2 separate regions of the Homo sapiens genome follow, and region 2 is linked to region 1. The links are contacts of gene promoters, found by promoter capture Hi-C in blood cells and fetal thymus (Javierre and others, 2016). All regions are on one chromosome and are shown on one strand. Each heading gives the region's core, a stretch centred on a gene start or on the middle of the fragment in contact. The rest is flanking DNA. Distances are from core to core; before and after follow the strand shown.

Evidence for each region. Contacts are between HindIII fragments. The CHiCAGO score rates a contact against its expected background, and 5 or more counts as called.
Region 2: the fragment with the promoter of STAB1 here is called in contact with the fragment with the promoter of ALAS1 in region 1 in 6 of 17 cell types (naive CD8 T cells, monocytes, activated CD4 T cells and 3 more); the score reaches 9.2 in naive CD8 T cells.

What each region holds. Positions count from the first base shown.
Region 1 is chr3:52,194,650-52,202,178 of GRCh38, forward strand. It overlaps ALAS1 (5'-aminolevulinate synthase 1), which reads left to right and starts at 3,511. Exons shown (of 12, transcript NM_000688.6): 1 at 3,511-3,606; 2 at 4,023-4,199; 3 at 4,561-4,791. The coding sequence starts at 4,593. It also overlaps the pseudogene ALDOAP1. RefSeq lists enhancers at 3,053-3,122, 3,133-3,352 and silencers at 3,493-3,562, 3,673-3,752. The HindIII fragment of the contact is 12,746 bases long and covers 1-6,142 here.
Region 2 is chr3:52,492,445-52,499,973 of GRCh38, forward strand. It overlaps STAB1 (stabilin 1), which reads left to right and starts at 2,894. Exons shown (of 69, transcript NM_015136.3): 1 at 2,894-3,047. The coding sequence starts at 2,970. NISCH (nischarin) reads left to right here. Exons shown (of 21, transcript NM_007184.4): 21 at 1-624. The coding sequence ends at 38. The HindIII fragment of the contact is 21,004 bases long and covers 1-7,529 here.

The sequences.
Region 1 (7,529 bases), core at 2,261-4,760:
GAACCTGAAGGCTGTGCAGAAGGAGTATGTCAAGTGAGCCCTGGCAGATAGCCACGCCTGTCAAGGAAAGTATACTCCAAGCGGTCAGGCTGGGGCTGCTGCCAGTGAGTCCCTCTTCATCTTTAACCATGCCTAGTAAGCGGAGGTGTTCCCAGGCTGCCCCCCAACACCCCAGGCCCCATCCCCTCCCACGCTCTCTTGAAGAGGGGGACTCCTCTTCGGGGCTCCAGGCTGGCTTGCCCGCGCGCTTGCCTCCCTCGTGACAGCGGTGTGTGTTGTCTGTGAATGCTAACTCCATCACCCTTTCTAGCACATTGCTAATAAACAGCTATTTAAGGGAGAAAAAATAAAAATAAAAATAAAAATAGTTCCTGGGGCCCAGAATAAAAAGGGGGAATTCTAGGGGCTGGGGTTGACATTTTCCTTTTGCCTTGACCATTGGGTGGGTACTATGTGCAGCAGCCCCGGACGGTGATAGTGATGGTAATGATGACCATGATGCAGACTGGGTGGGAGGGAAAAAAGTCCCCAGCGTCATCCCTGGGATGGGGCCTGACCTTGCCTCAACTCCAGCTGCCCAGGGCCAGAGCGAGTGATAAGATGAGTTTATACTGTAGCTCTGAGAAGGAAGGGAGGGAGGGAGAAGGAGGGAAGGAGGGAAAAGGGAGGGAGGGGTAAGGGAGAGAGAAAAAGGGAGAGAAAGGGAAAAGAAGATGGGGAAGGAGGGAAGGACAAGGGAGGAGTGAGAGGCGAAGAAGGAGAAGGAAAAGAAGAAAAAGAAAGAAGAAGAGGAGGAGGGGGCGGAGGGGAGAAGAAGAGGCCCCGAAGGATCACAACTGGAGCAGAATAGTGCCCACCCAGACTCATCACTGAGGCAGATGGGGTCATTCTCATTTCACAGACACAAAAACTAAGATTTAAGGCATGAGGCAATTTGCTCAAGATCTCAGAGTTAGGACTAGAACTCATGGCTTATGCCTTGCTCTTCAAGGTCTCAAACCTTGAACCACTCAAGAAACATATTCCAAGATACCTCACCCTTACCTCATCAGAAAGGGGAGCTGGTTAAAATGCAGATTTCTGGGTCAAAATCAAAGGTGTGTGGCACAGGAATCTGCATTTTGACCGGTACCCTGGGGGTGGTTCTTTGGGCCCTGACACTGGGAAACCCCGTGGCTCATTTAGGGCCTTTCTGGTCTGACCTCTTGGCGTCAGGTCCTGACCATACTCCCGTTGCCCAGCTATTTGGGCTGACTCACGCTGACCCCCCAACCGCCACCCCCACAGGGCTGAGCCTTTTCCATCCAAGGCTTCACCCACAGTCTCCCAGTCGCATGTAGATCCACCCTTCCAACCAGCACCCGCTTCTCTTCTGGAAGCCTTCCTCGTGGTTGGGATCCTCCTCTTTCAGCGCCTGTTGGAGTAATAGCCTCCTCCTCTTCCTCCATCTGGAGTTGCTTACAACACTCTATTTCACTTTCCATGTGAGTCGGCCTTGTTTCCCAATCTTTCTCTATATTAAACAGGAAACTCCCAGAGGGCTAGGGACTGGCTGGTTTAAACAATAAGCCTCTGAAATACAGGACTTCACCTGACCCTCCTGCCAGCCACAAGTGGCAGGGCGGGAGAGCTTTACAAATCAGGAAACCAAGCCTTGAAGAGGTTGTGGCCTGCCCAAGTCTATGGCCAAGTAAGATTCAGAGCTGGGTTTGAAACCCATGCCCAACTCCACTATCCAGTTCTTTCTGCTTTGGCTTTGGCTCTGATCACCCCCAAAAAAACCCTATGAGGGCCAGGCGCAGTGGCTCAAGCCTATAATCCCAGAACTTTGGGAAGCTGAGGGTGATCACTTGAGGTCAGGAGTTCAAGACCAGCCTGGCCATCATGGTGAAACCCCATCTCTACTAAAAATACAAAAATTAGCTGGGCGTGGTGGTGTAATCCCAGCTGCTCAGGAGGCTGAGGCAGAAGAATCGCTTGAACCTGGGAGGCAGAGGTTGCAGTGAGCCGAGATTGTGCCACTGCACTCCGGCCTGGGCAACAGAGGGAGACTCTGTCTCAAACAAACAAACAAAATAACAACAACAACAAAAACAACCTGTGAGGCAGGCATTTCAGGGATTATGATCCTATTGCCCAGATAAGGAAAGCAAGGCCCAAAGATGAGCAAAGCACTCAATATCATCCTTATTCTGTTCCCACTTCCAGCTGCACTTGGGTCCAAGTCCAAGTGCTGACCTTTTCTCTCTCATCTTCTCTGGGTGATGGGCACTGCCCAGGATCTCTTGGCTGAATGGCACAGAACTGGGTCTCGAGCTCTCAGACCAAAGCCCTCATCCTGGACTGGTCCCACTGCCACTCTGAACCCAGGTGCCTCCTCTGAAGGTGGAGACTCACCTCACCTGCCTTGCAGCCAGCTGGGTGCTCAGAGACAGAAATGCAAAGTACCTGGACACACCCTGGTCACCATCATTCTGGACTTTGTCCCTCTTGTTAATGCTCAGCTGGGAAAGGAATACCCTCAAAGGCCCTTTCCTCAAGAATGGAGGAGAGTACCTCTGAGCCTGGCACAGGCCCAGCCCAACACAGCCCAAGCCAAGCTGGGAAGGGTGTGGGGCAAGGAAGCCAGACTGACATTCCTGAGACGGGTTTGCCAAGCCCTACACTTTATGTGTTGTACCCGGGAAACTCAATGGAGGTATGGCCCAACGCTGACCTTTGGCATGGAGGCCTAAGCCACCCTGCTGGTGCCCAGGGTGGCCAGCAAGGGGCTTCAGACAACCCTGGATGGAAAATAAAAATAGTGGCTAATATTTGTTACACGCTAACTATTGTCAGGCCCTGTGCCTTCCCCTCCTCCCCAAGTGCTCAGAGCTGTGGAGTGGATGGGTTCCACCCTAGCCCTGTTCCTCTGTCCCCTCTGGATCATCTTAGACCAGAAAGTGCCACAGCTGAGTGTCCCGCTTCTTCCGCATCCTGCCAGGACCACTCCATTTGTGGGCGATATAGCCAGCTCCACCTCCTCCGGGAAGCCCTTGTTCACAGTTTCCAAAGCAAGCCGCAGGCGGGATGGATCCTGCTTAACACCCCGGCCCAGAACCCCTTGGATCTCCTTCTTCCTCCATGTCCAAGACACCCAGCTTAACAACCCTGTAGCCCCCAACTTGGCCCTAGCGGCACCTCGCCTCGACCTTGCCATTTTATACTCAATTGGGGCGTAGGGTTCTGAAGCCCAGGGTAGTTGGTGGGGAGGCAGCACGAGGGTGCAGGATGAGGTCGGGAAAAGAGACCTCGTCCGCCCACCGCCTAGCGCTTCCTCCTCCCTGCAGGCGAGCCGGGGAATCCCCGGCAGCACCGATATCCGCAGAGCCCAAGAAGTGGGCCTCTCTGCCCCGCCCCCCCGGCTCGCCGAGGGCTACGCGGCGCGCCTGCGCAGAAGAAGGCAGCGCCCAAGGCGCATGCGCAGCGGTCACTCCCGCTGTATATTAAGGCGCCGGCGATCGCGGCCTGAGGCTGCTCCCGGACAAGGGCAACGAGCGTTTCGTTTGGACTTCTCGACTTGAGTGCCCGCCTCCTTCGCCGCCGCCTCTGCAGTCCTCAGCGCAGGTGAGGGCCCGCGCGGTAGGTGCGGCGCCGGCCGAGGAAGCCCCGGGGTGTCCTGCCAGCCGTGGCACCGCTGCCCCGGGTGCTGGGACCCCATCCCCCACTGTCCCAGTCACCCGCCGCCTTGAGGTCAGCGTTTATCCTCCAGATCTTTTGCCTAGACGGCCGCCTCAGTTTCCCCCTTTCGGCCCCTTCCGGCTATTCCCGGTTGAACCCGCCGCTTTAGAATTCCCTTCTCATACCCCTCCCGTCATTCTCGAGACCTCGACCGCGGGTCACCTCTGACCCCCACTGCCGGAGGACTGCCTTCTTTCTCCAGACTCAACTCCCTCGACTTTATAAGCCCCTGCGCGTCCCCAGTGAGGCCCAAGGCGCTGGCCCTCATACCCCTACCCTCATTTGTGCCCCTCCTTTCTCAGTTATGCCCAGTTCTTCCCGCTGTGGGGACACGACCACGGAGGAATCCTTGCTTCAGGGACTCGGGACCCTGCTGGACCCCTTCCTCGGGTTTAGGGGATGTGGGGACCAGGAGAAAGTCAGGATCCCTAAGAGTCTTCCCTGCCTGGATGGATGAGTGGCTTCTTCTCCACCTAGATGTAAGCCAAGATGTCTTATCTGCACTGTGCATCTCCCTAAGAAACCTCTGGCCTCCCAAACCTGTTCTTGACCTTTCCCTCATCCTTCCGCCCCCTTGATTATGTACTGTCAGTATTCATTTGGTGAAGTTGCTTTGCAGGTGCCTTTGTGTAGCGCTGGAGAATGAAGAAGTTGGTGACCCGGGTAAAGTGTGGTCACCATTCCTTAGCTCACATCAGTGCTGTCCTTAGGCATTTTTGAGGGAGAAGTGTTAGTATTCCAGGGTACCCTTTATATAAACTGCGGTTGACACCTGAATCCAGTGAGCTTGCAGTGATATTTGCCTGATTATTAACAACTGTTGATGTCACTCTTCATCAGTCTTTCCACAGGAGCCAGCATACTTCCTGAACATGGAGAGTGTTGTTCGCCGCTGCCCATTCTTATCCCGAGTCCCCCAGGCCTTTCTGCAGAAAGCAGGCAAATCTCTGTTGTTCTATGCCCAAAACTGCCCCAAGATGATGGAAGTTGGGGCCAAGCCAGCCCCTCGGGCATTGTCCACTGCAGCAGTACACTACCAACAGATCAAAGAAACCCCTCCGGCCAGTGAGAGTAAGTGTCATTGACAATGAAGGAGCAGGTATGGGTGTTTGTGCTCATTGGTAGACTAGAAGCAGTCCCCACAGTGGTGGTGAGGGTCACACTCACTCACAGAGGGCTGCTATGTGCAGGCTGGGCTCTGAGCACAGATTATCTCATATGATTGTCCCCCCAAGGGTAGGCACTTTTAGCTTTTCCATCTTTAAAGGTGAAACAGTGGCCAGTGTTGCACATTACAGGTTTTTGGATTGCACGTTAGTGTCTATAGGGGTTTTAGTGTTTCCTCAGTGCCTCGTTCACATAAATATTAAATTGGAATGTTCTAATTTCCCTCATTAAACATTTAGCCTTCTAATTTCCCTCATTAAACATTTGGCCTTCGGCTTTTTATTTATTTAATTTTTCTTTTTTGAGACTGAGTCTTGCTCTGTCGCCCAGGTTGGAGTGCAGTGATGCAGTCTCGGCTTACTGCAACCTCCACCTCCCAGGTTCAAGTGATTCTCCTGCCTCAGCCTTCCAAGTATCTGGAATTACAGGCATGCACCACCACGCCCAGATAATTTTTGTACTTTTAGTAGGGTTTCACCTTGTTGGTCCGGCTGGTCTCAAACTCCTGACCTCAAATGATCCACCTGCCTCAGCCTCCCAGAGTGCTGGGATTGCAGGCGTGAGCCACCGTGCCCGGCCCCTTTGGCTTTTTAAAGTAGTGATTTTTTTTTTCTTAAAAGTTTTTGTTCTGTTGTGGTAAAATGCCCAAGAAAAATTACCATTTTAAGCACTTAAAAATGTGCAGTTCAGTGGTACATTCATATTGTTGTGTCACCACCACCATCCATCTCCAGAACTTTTTTCATCTTCCCAAACTGAAATTCTATACCCATCAAACAGTAACTCTCCATTCCTCTCTCCCCAACCCCTGACAACCACCATTCTGCTTTCTGTCTCTATGAATTTGACTATTCTAGGTACCTCATATAAGTGAAATTGTACAGTATTTATTAGTGATTTTTAAAAACAAATTTATCTTGGCTGTGTGCAGTGGCTCACTCCTGTAATCCCAGCGCTTTGGGAGGCCGAGGTGGTTTGATCACCTGAGGCCAGGAGTTCGAGACCAGCCTGGCCACATGGTGAAACCCCACTGTTACAAAAAATACAAAATTAGCTGGATGTGGTGGTGTACGCCTGTAATCCCAGCTATTTGGGAGGCTGAGGCATGAGAATTGCTTGAACCCGGGAGGTAGAGGTTGCAGTGAGCTGAGATCATGCCATGTATCTTTATTTGTATATACATTTGTTGTTGTTGTTTTTAACAAAGAGACTAGAGTTGAATTTAGTTTGCTCTGCTTCTGATAGGAGAGAACAAAGCTTTTCAGGTTCCACTTAATCCCAGAGAATATTTTACAGGTTTTTCTTAGGCGTGTTCTCTGGGTGTGGGCTTGTAAGAAAATAAGTTTTTTTTTTCTTTAAGCAGAAAGGATTTAATCCTTTGTAGGGTTTATTTTCAAGAGTTAGTTACGTCTTTTTTACCAAAATGCTTGCAATGGCTATGTTTTAAATGATAGGATTTTTTTCTTTTTCTAGACTTTAATGAATATGTATTACTTTTATAATAAATGAAATTAACTTCAAAATAATTTTTTTGGCCTTCCGTTATAGAAGATTTTAATGAAAACTGTATTGAGACACTTTACCCAAGTTATAGGAAAGGCTAGCCAGTGACTCACAGGAGTGTTCCAGAATGATGAAGAAAGACTTTTCTAGAAAGAAGGTGAATGAATTTGCTCAAGGGGAGAGGGAAGTCACTGTAGCTAGAAGGATAATTACCAGCCAACGGTGTTTAGTCAGCAGACTTTGATGAATTTAGATGAGAAAGTAGATGAGGTATGTGAATGTGATATACCCCTATTTTTTCTTACTTTATTAGCAATCTAAAGACCTAAGTCTTAGTCTAATTTCTGTTGTTTAGATGAAAACCAATAGCTTTTATGTTAAGCAACAGCAAGCCTCTTTGTCAAGAATCTGTTTAGAAAATGTCAGCAGAGACAGGATGTGGTGGCTCATGCCTGTAATTCCAGCACTTTGGGAGGCTGAGGCGGGAGGACTGCTTGAGCCTAGGAGTTTGATAGAAGCTAGGGCCACATAACAAGACTCCGTCTCTACAAAAAATAAAAAATAAAAAGAATTAGCTGGGCGCAGTAGAACACCTGCAGTCCAAGCTACTTGGAGAGCTAAGGTGAGAGGATCACTTGAGCCTGGAGGTCAAAGCTGCAGTTAGCTATGATTGCACCATGCACTCTAGCCTGGTTGACAGAGTGAGATCCTGTTTCAAAAAAAAAGGAAAGGAAAATGTTAGCAGAGAAAAAAATGTGTGTGAATATTTCCCGTTACCTTACAGAGTGTGTCCTCTCATAAAATAAGCTGAGTGTAGTTGGGGTAGAAATTACTGGAAATGATCCAACTCAAGGATTCCGGGTTGTCTAAAACTAGAAAATGGTACTTTTTTTGGATTTATGACGAGAAATACTGTGGGTTTAAGAGGCAACTGGAATGTGCCAGTTAACTCTTCATAGACGCATTGTTTCCTGTGAAGCAGATGAAAAACTAGAGAGATTAGCAGAACCTAATAAAAATAAGCTTGTGGCTGAGTGCAGTGGTTCACGCCTATAATCCCAGCACTTTGGGAGGCCAAGGCAGGTGGATAACCTGAGGTCAGGAGTTCAAGACCAGCCTGGACAACATGGTGAAACCCC
Region 2 (7,529 bases), core at 1,644-4,143, 300 kb after region 1:
TGTGTGGCCGTGAGCTGCCTGTCGAGCTCACCGGCTAGCCCAGGCCACAGCCAGCCTGTCGTGTCCAGCCTGACGCCTACTGGGGCAGGGCAGCAGGCTTTTGTGTTCTCTAAAAATGTTTTATCCTCCCTTTGGTACCTTAATTTGACTGTCCTCGCAGAGAATGTGAACATGTGTGTGTGTTGTGTTAATTCTTTCTCATGTTGGGAGTGAGAATGCCGGGCCCCTCAGGGCTGTCGGTGTGCTGTCAGCCTCCCACAGGTGGTACAGCCGTGCACACCAGTGTCGTGTCTGCTGTTGTGGGACCGTTGTTAACACGTGACACTGTGGGTCTGACTTTCTCTTCTACACGTCCTTTCCTGAAGTGTCGAGTCCAGTCCTTTGTTGCTGTTGCTGTTGCTGTTGCTGTTGCTGTTGCTGTTGGCATCTTGCTGCTAATCCTGAGGCTGGTAGCAGAATGCACATTGGAAGCTCCCACCCCATATTGTTCTTCAAAGTGGAGGTCTCCCCTGATCCAGACAAGTGGGAGAGCCCGTGGGGGCAGGGGACCTGGAGCTGCCAGCACCAAGCGTGATTCCTGCTGCCTGTATTCTCTATTCCAATAAAGCAGAGTTTGACACCGTCTGCATCTTCTAAACCAAGGGTCACTGGGATCCCAGCAGGGCTTCCGTCCAGGGCGTGGTCACATGGGGGAGGGAGGGTGCCCTGGAGACAGGAGGGTGAGGGGTTGGGGGAAAGGAAGGAGCAGCCCTCCAGGAGCCAGATGCTTCTTGGAACATGGGAGGCATGACAGGGCCATGGCCTCTCTGGACAGTGCCATGCTGGGCTGTGGCTAAACCATGAGCGCAGGGCAAACAAGAAACTCCTCAGGGCACCCCTGACACACCAGCCGCTGCCCCTCTGCCTGGGTGCGGGGCATGCCACCCTCTTCAGGCTGTCCTGCAGGTCTTATGTGTCAGTCACCCCTGGGCCCAACCCCACCTGTTTCACAACCCCTGTTGAGAGTGGGGGAGGGGCGAGGAGGACAGAGAGATCCCAGAGTCTGAGGTGGCTGGTGGGGGCCGGGGCATCTCACCAAGGTGGCCCTTGAATGGCAGCAGGGGAGGTCTGTGGGGAGGTGGACCCAGGTGGTGGACAGTGGAGGGAGGGGCACATACCCATCTGTGTCTGTCTTCATGTCCCTGAAACATGAGGCTCATGGGCCCCTCCCTGAGGGTTGCTTCAGGGAGCCTGCTGAGGTAGGACCTGGGATTTTGGTAGCCAACCCCATGCCACACTCTTCCCCAACCCCATTCCTGCTGCCAGAGCAGGGCCTATGAGCCCCACATAACTCATCCTGGCCCAGCCAGGAGCCTCAGTCCCCAGGACCTTGGGGCAGCCAGGCCAGGCAGGGCTGTGGAGAGGTGGGTGGCGTGGCCAGCCTGGGTCCCAGGCCTGCTTCTGTTCCCCCGTTTCCCTTGGTGCCAGCAGAGTGGGGGTCCTGCCTGGAGGACCCTTCACCCCCAGGAAGACTGTGGGTGTGGGGAATGTGGGGAGGGTTTCCCCTTGCAACCCCCATCCCAGCCAGATCTCAGGCCTGCCTGAAGGCCCCTCCAAACTGATGGGAGTGGAGGTGTGCTGGGGAGGAGAAACTTTCCCCAACCTGGCCTTTACCAAAGCATTTACAGATGGCCACCGGGCTCTGGCCCACTCCTGTCTCCCCAACTGTTACGCCGTCTGCAGTTGGGGGTAGTGACAACTGGAGGCAAGGCCCACCACGTGCAGCCCTGGCACGCAGAGGCCCTCAGCCTGGGCCCACTGCACCTCTTGGGGGTGCTGGCTGTGCAGGCAGTGGTGGCTTCAGACAGTAGCCCTGGGATTGGATATGAAAACTGATTACCTCAGACAAGCTACCCAGCCCCTCTGAGCCTCAGTTTCCCCACCAGTAACAGAGGGATCATAAAAGTAGCCACCTCCATTCATTTATTCCTTCTGCACACGTGTATTGAGCATCCACTGTGCGAATCAGCCAGACAGCGCCCCTACTCTTCCACAGCCAATGTTCCAGGGGAGACAAATGAAACAAGCCAATGTCAGCTGGTGGCTGGTGCTGCCAGGTGAACCAGGTGCAGGGCCACCTGCAGGCTGAGACCAGGGAGGCGCTCTGAAGTGGTGGCCCTTGACCTGAGACCACCTGTGAGAAGGAGCCAGAGTGTGACAATCTAGGGTAGCAGCACATGCCGGGAGAGCTCACTGAAGGAGCAGAGAGGCCTGCGCGGCTGGAGCAGACCTGTCTGGGGAGAGTTCAGAGAGACCAGCCAGCTGGAGAGGGGTTTGGAGGTGCTGCAGCAAGCTGGCTGAGCATGGGCTGCTGAGTGGAGGGCAGATAGGGAGGCAGGGAGGGTGGATGGGGGTTGGCGGGCAGGACCAGCGGCTCAGGAGTGGCTGGGGCTAGTGAGGGGATGTGGGTCTGGTGGGCTAGCAGGGTGCCTGTAGCGAGTCAGAGCCCCATGAGCGCCCTGGAGTTGGAAAGGTGGAGGCAGGAACAGACAGACCCATTCAGGGGCTGCCCTGCCTTCCGCCGACCAGCACCCCAGGAGCCTCTGAATGAAACACACTGGGCTCGCAGGCGGGGGACTCGTTCACGTGTGCCTTTGGATTTGCTTCAGAACCTCTGATAGAGCCCAGGTCCCGGGGCTCATGGTGGCCTGGACTTCCAGGTTGTGATGCCAGGAGGGTCCCAGCCGGGAAGCCCCGAGCAGGGCTCAGGCCGCCCATGGGGGGTCAGTGGCCAGCACCTTCCCTTCCGCCTGCAGGCTGCTGATATGCAGGAGGAAATCCTGGCGGGTTCCTGTGGGGGTGAGCTGGCGGGGCCTCCGGGCTGCTTTTAAGGCCACTGCCCGCCCCGTCCCGCCTGCCTGTGCTGTGCCTGCCTCCTAGAGCTCATTCCCTACGCCCCGACTCTGTCCTGGACAGCGTGCCCACCAGCCATGGCGGGGCCCCGGGGCCTCCTCCCACTCTGCCTCCTGGCCTTCTGCCTGGCAGGCTTCAGCTTCGTCAGGGGGCAGGTAAGTGTGAGCCAGTCGCAGGGGCACACGGCGTCTGGGCCCTGCCGGCCAGCGGTGGGAACAGGGAGGGACTGACATGGAGGGGCAGGGGCCTGGGGAGAAACCGCAGCTGGCGCCTGTCTGGCCTCTTAGCAGGCCTGGGGGCTGGCTATTGTGCCCACCTCCCCAGTCTGAGGTCTGCGTCCAGCCACCCAGGGTTCAGGGGTGTGTCAGCCCACCCTCCTCTGACTATGCGGGGCCGGGGCTCCCCAGCGTGCAGCTGAAGTGTACAGAGGCAGGCCTGTCCTGCCCTTCTGGCCCAGACGGAGGCCCAGGTCTTATGTGGCCCTCACCTGGGGGTTGAAGATGTGATCACCTCCAACCCCCGAGGACTACAGATTCACGTGGGGCAAGTGTGTGCACATGTGTGTGCCTGTGTCCAGCCCCAAGAGTACCGGGAAGCAGAATGAGTCACTCACCCTTAGTGTCCGGGGTTATGAGCAGCTGGCAAGGACACACTTCAGCCTCAGAGCTGCCACAGAGCAGCCACAGCCCCGGGCAGGTCCCCTTGAATCCTCACAGCCTCGGGGCAACTCCTCCTGTCCTCCTCGTGAGGAACCCGAAGCCCTAGGATGATGGGGACAGGCCATTCCCACTCTAAAGCCATGCTCCAAACCCCTGCCTGTGATGGCCATCCGTGTGTGCTGGCGAGCAGACAGGGTCCTGGTATGCAGCCACAGCCAGCCCCTCGGTCAGGTCCCTGTGACAGGCTCCTGGCTGCAGGTCTGCTCAGGCCCCATGGTAGGGGCCTCTGGGAGCTTCTGGAAGAGCCTCCCACCCTGGTGATGGGGGTAGTCTCTCTCCTGTGAGGCTGAGCGTGTCTGCCTCCTGGAGCAGCAACCACTATCCCCATGGCACAGATGGCCAGACTAAAGTCCAGAGCGGGGAGGACTTGCCCAGGATCCCACAGGCAGTCCAGCCAGGGGCCTAGGCCCCCTGCCACCATCAGGCGCTTTCTCTTGGATGCCTGTGGTCCCTCAGAGAGGCAGCAGGGAGAAGGGCCTCACCAGCTTCAGGACCAGGCCAGGGCTGGGGACAGGAAGATATGAGGCTGAGAAGGCGACAGTGATGGGGGAAGAGCCAAGGGTTCCAGGGCTGTGCTGAGAGCCCTGCAGGTAAGCTCCTGCCCTCCCCTTAACTCAGTTTCCCCCTGTGTACCATGCAAGGGAATTTCAAAGGCCTCCGCCACCTCCTCATGCTCTGGGCAGTGAGGACAGAGGTCAGTGAGGGGCCTCAGATTCGAGTTTTTTCCTTGTCAGAGACCTATGGCTCTGACCACTCCTTGTGGATGGGGCTGCAGCAGTGCTGGCCACTCTAACACAGCTACGTGGCCTCTATCCCAGCACCCTGCATAGCCGAGAGCCACTGTAAGTGCAGTTGGCCCTCTGTATCTGTGCACCCTGTACTTGGGTTCAACCAACCCTGGATTGAAAATATTCAGGAAATAAAATGGCATCTCTACTGAACATGTTCAGACTTTTTTTCTTTTGAGGTGGAGTCTCGCTCTGTAGCCCAGGCTGGAGGGCAGTGGCGTGATCTCGGCTCAGTGAAATCTCCACCTCCCAGGTTCAAGCGATTCTCCTGCCTCAGCCTCCCGAGAACTGGGATTACAGGCGCCCGCCACCACACCCAGCTAATTTTTGAATTTTTAGTTTCACCATGTTGACCAGGCTGGTCTGTAACTCCTGACCTCAGGTAATCCACCTGCCTCAGCCTCCCAAAGTGCTGGGATTACAGGTGTGAGCCACCGTGCCCAACCCCATGTTCAGACTTTTCTATGTACATAGCATTTACATTGTATTCGGTATTATAAGTCGTCTAAGGATGACTTAAGGTATACGGGAGGATGTGCATAGATTATATGTGAATTCGATGCCTTTTTTTTTTTTTTTTTTTTTTTGAGATGGTGTCTCTCTCTGTTGTCCGGGCTGCATTACAGTGGCGCTATCTCAGCTCACTGCAACCTCTGCCTCCCAGCTTCAAGGGATTCTCCTGACTCAGCCTCCCAAGTAGCTGGGACTACAGGCGCACACCACCACACTTGGCTAATTTTTGTGTTTTTATTAGAGACAGGGTTTCTCCATGTTAGCCAGCCTGGTCTCGAACTCCTGATGTCAGGTGATCTACCCTCTTCGGCCTCCCAAAGTGCTGGGATTACAGATGTGAGCCACCACTCCCAGCCTCGATTCCATTTTATACCAGGGACTTGAGCATCCACAGATTTTGGTATCTGAGGAGGGTCCTGGAACCAGTCCCCCATAGACACCAAGGAACAACTATATTAGGAGTGGAAGCTCTGAGGGGAAAGGATATCCCGGGTAACCTGTTCAGTAAGGGCAGCAACAGGACTGGAGTGAAGATGGGTTTGGGCAGCGAGGCAGGAAGGCTTTCCTGGAAGGCCCTTAGCACTTGCCCATTCAGCAGCTTTTCACCGAGGGCACGTGGCTAGGTGTGTGCAGTGGAGCCTGTGGCGGGAGAGGAGCACGGTCCAGAACCCAGCCCTGCACCCTCCCTGATCTGACCAAAGGTAGGGGGAAGCAGTTTGGGGTTCCTTCCTCTCTGACAGGGTTTAGATTCTGGGCTCTCAGCCTTAAAAAGTCCCCATGAACCAGGTCCCAGCTTGGGAGAATTTCATCCACCTTCTCACCAAAGACTTCACACTTCGTGTCTCCTCAACTTCCCCCAGCAGCAGCTCTGTGGGAAGCAGACATTGCAAAATCAGGTCTGCGGGGGGTGTGGGGTTGGGGGGGAGACAGCACCCGCTCTGGCTCAGTCCCGAGGTGCCCCCAGGAAGGAGGGAATCTGACTCAGCACTCAGGCCGTGATCCAGCCTCACTCCACCCAGCTGGACCAACGGCAAGATGTGGGCTCAGACCGCCGATGCTCCTTCCAGGCCATGGGGCGGAGGCAGGGCCCCTCGGCTGTGGTCTCGGAGAAGCACTGATGTGGCAGCAGGCTTACCATTCATCAGCATTTCACACACGTTTACAAACACCCAGGTCCTGTGAGTGAGTGTCCACACCAGGCCCCAAAGCTCCCGCTTCCTTCTGGGCCCTAACTCACCCATCGCTCCATCTAGCCCTGACTGTCTCAGAGTGCGACCAGCACAGTCTTACTCAGCCTGAGCCCTTATCCAGAGCTGACCACCATTCCTCCAAGAGCTGGTCCACAGCCAGAATGGTGACCGCGCTGGCAGCTTTGCCCAGCTGGCCAGGTGGCTTTGAGGGGAGCCCACCTCCTGCCAAGCCTCTACCCTGAGCCAGCAGCTGCTCAGCCCTCAAGTTACCCAATTTCCTAGTCTCTCCCTGGCTCAGCAAAGGCGAGCCTCAGGATGGGGAACGAGACCACAACATCCCAGCTCCGCCGTTCAACACAGGCTGCTCTGAGCAACTTCCCTGTTTGCAGACCGCAGAGGCATGAGCGGAAAAGGCCAAATCACGGTAGCACAGAGGCTCTGGGGCCCTGGTATTTGCCATAAGAAAGTGTCAGGGGCACCATTTCTCCTTTTCTCTTGCTTTGAGAAGCCACACATCTGTAAATTATTCCAGGAAAGGGATGTTCTGGGGTCACTCCCTTTGGACCACAGTGTGGTCAGCATTTTTCAAGATGAGAACATCTCCACTTCTCTGGGCCATGCCCAAAGCCTCCCAAACACCTCCCCTCCAACCTATGCCCCTTCCCTATGCCCCTTCCTCCCACTAGAACTGGGAGTTTAGCTTCACGCCTCCTGGTTCAGTGCTGAAGGTTGCTGGGACTTTGTTGCCGTAGAAGGCTGGTGGACTTCCAGGAGCTATGGCAGGCCAGTGAATGGGACTCCAGGCCTGGGGCTTTTGTCAGCATCCTTGTGCCCATGCCGTGGTGGCAGGCTGGACTCCTCACATCTTCCACGCCCCACCCAGTTGCTGAGACCTTCTCCCAATTCATCTCACCACCCCAAGCCCTCTCAAATATCTCCCAATCCATTTCCACTGTCCCTGCCTTGGCCCAGGCCACCTTCAGGTAATGATGGCCTCTTTCCCACCACACCTGCCCCTGCGACTGTATTCTCCATGCAGCAGCCAGAGGGCCAATTTAAAACAAACTGGCCGGCCGGGCGCGGTGGCTCACGCCTGTAATCCCAGCACTTTGGGAGGCCGAGGCGGGCGGATCACGAGGTCAGGAGATCGAGACCAACCCCGCTAAAACGGTGAAACCCCGTCTCTACTAAAAATACAAAAAATTAGCCGGGCGTAGTGGCGGGCGCCTGTAGTCCCAGCTACTTGGGAGGCTGAGGCAGGAGAATGGCGTGAACCCGGGAGGCGGAGCTTGCAGTGAGCCGAGATCCCGCCACTGCACTCCAGCCTGGGCGACAGAGCGAGACTCCATCTCAAAAAAAAAAAAAAAAAAAAAAAAACTGGCCAGGCACAGTGGCACATGCCTGTAGTCCCAGCTACTCGGGAGGCT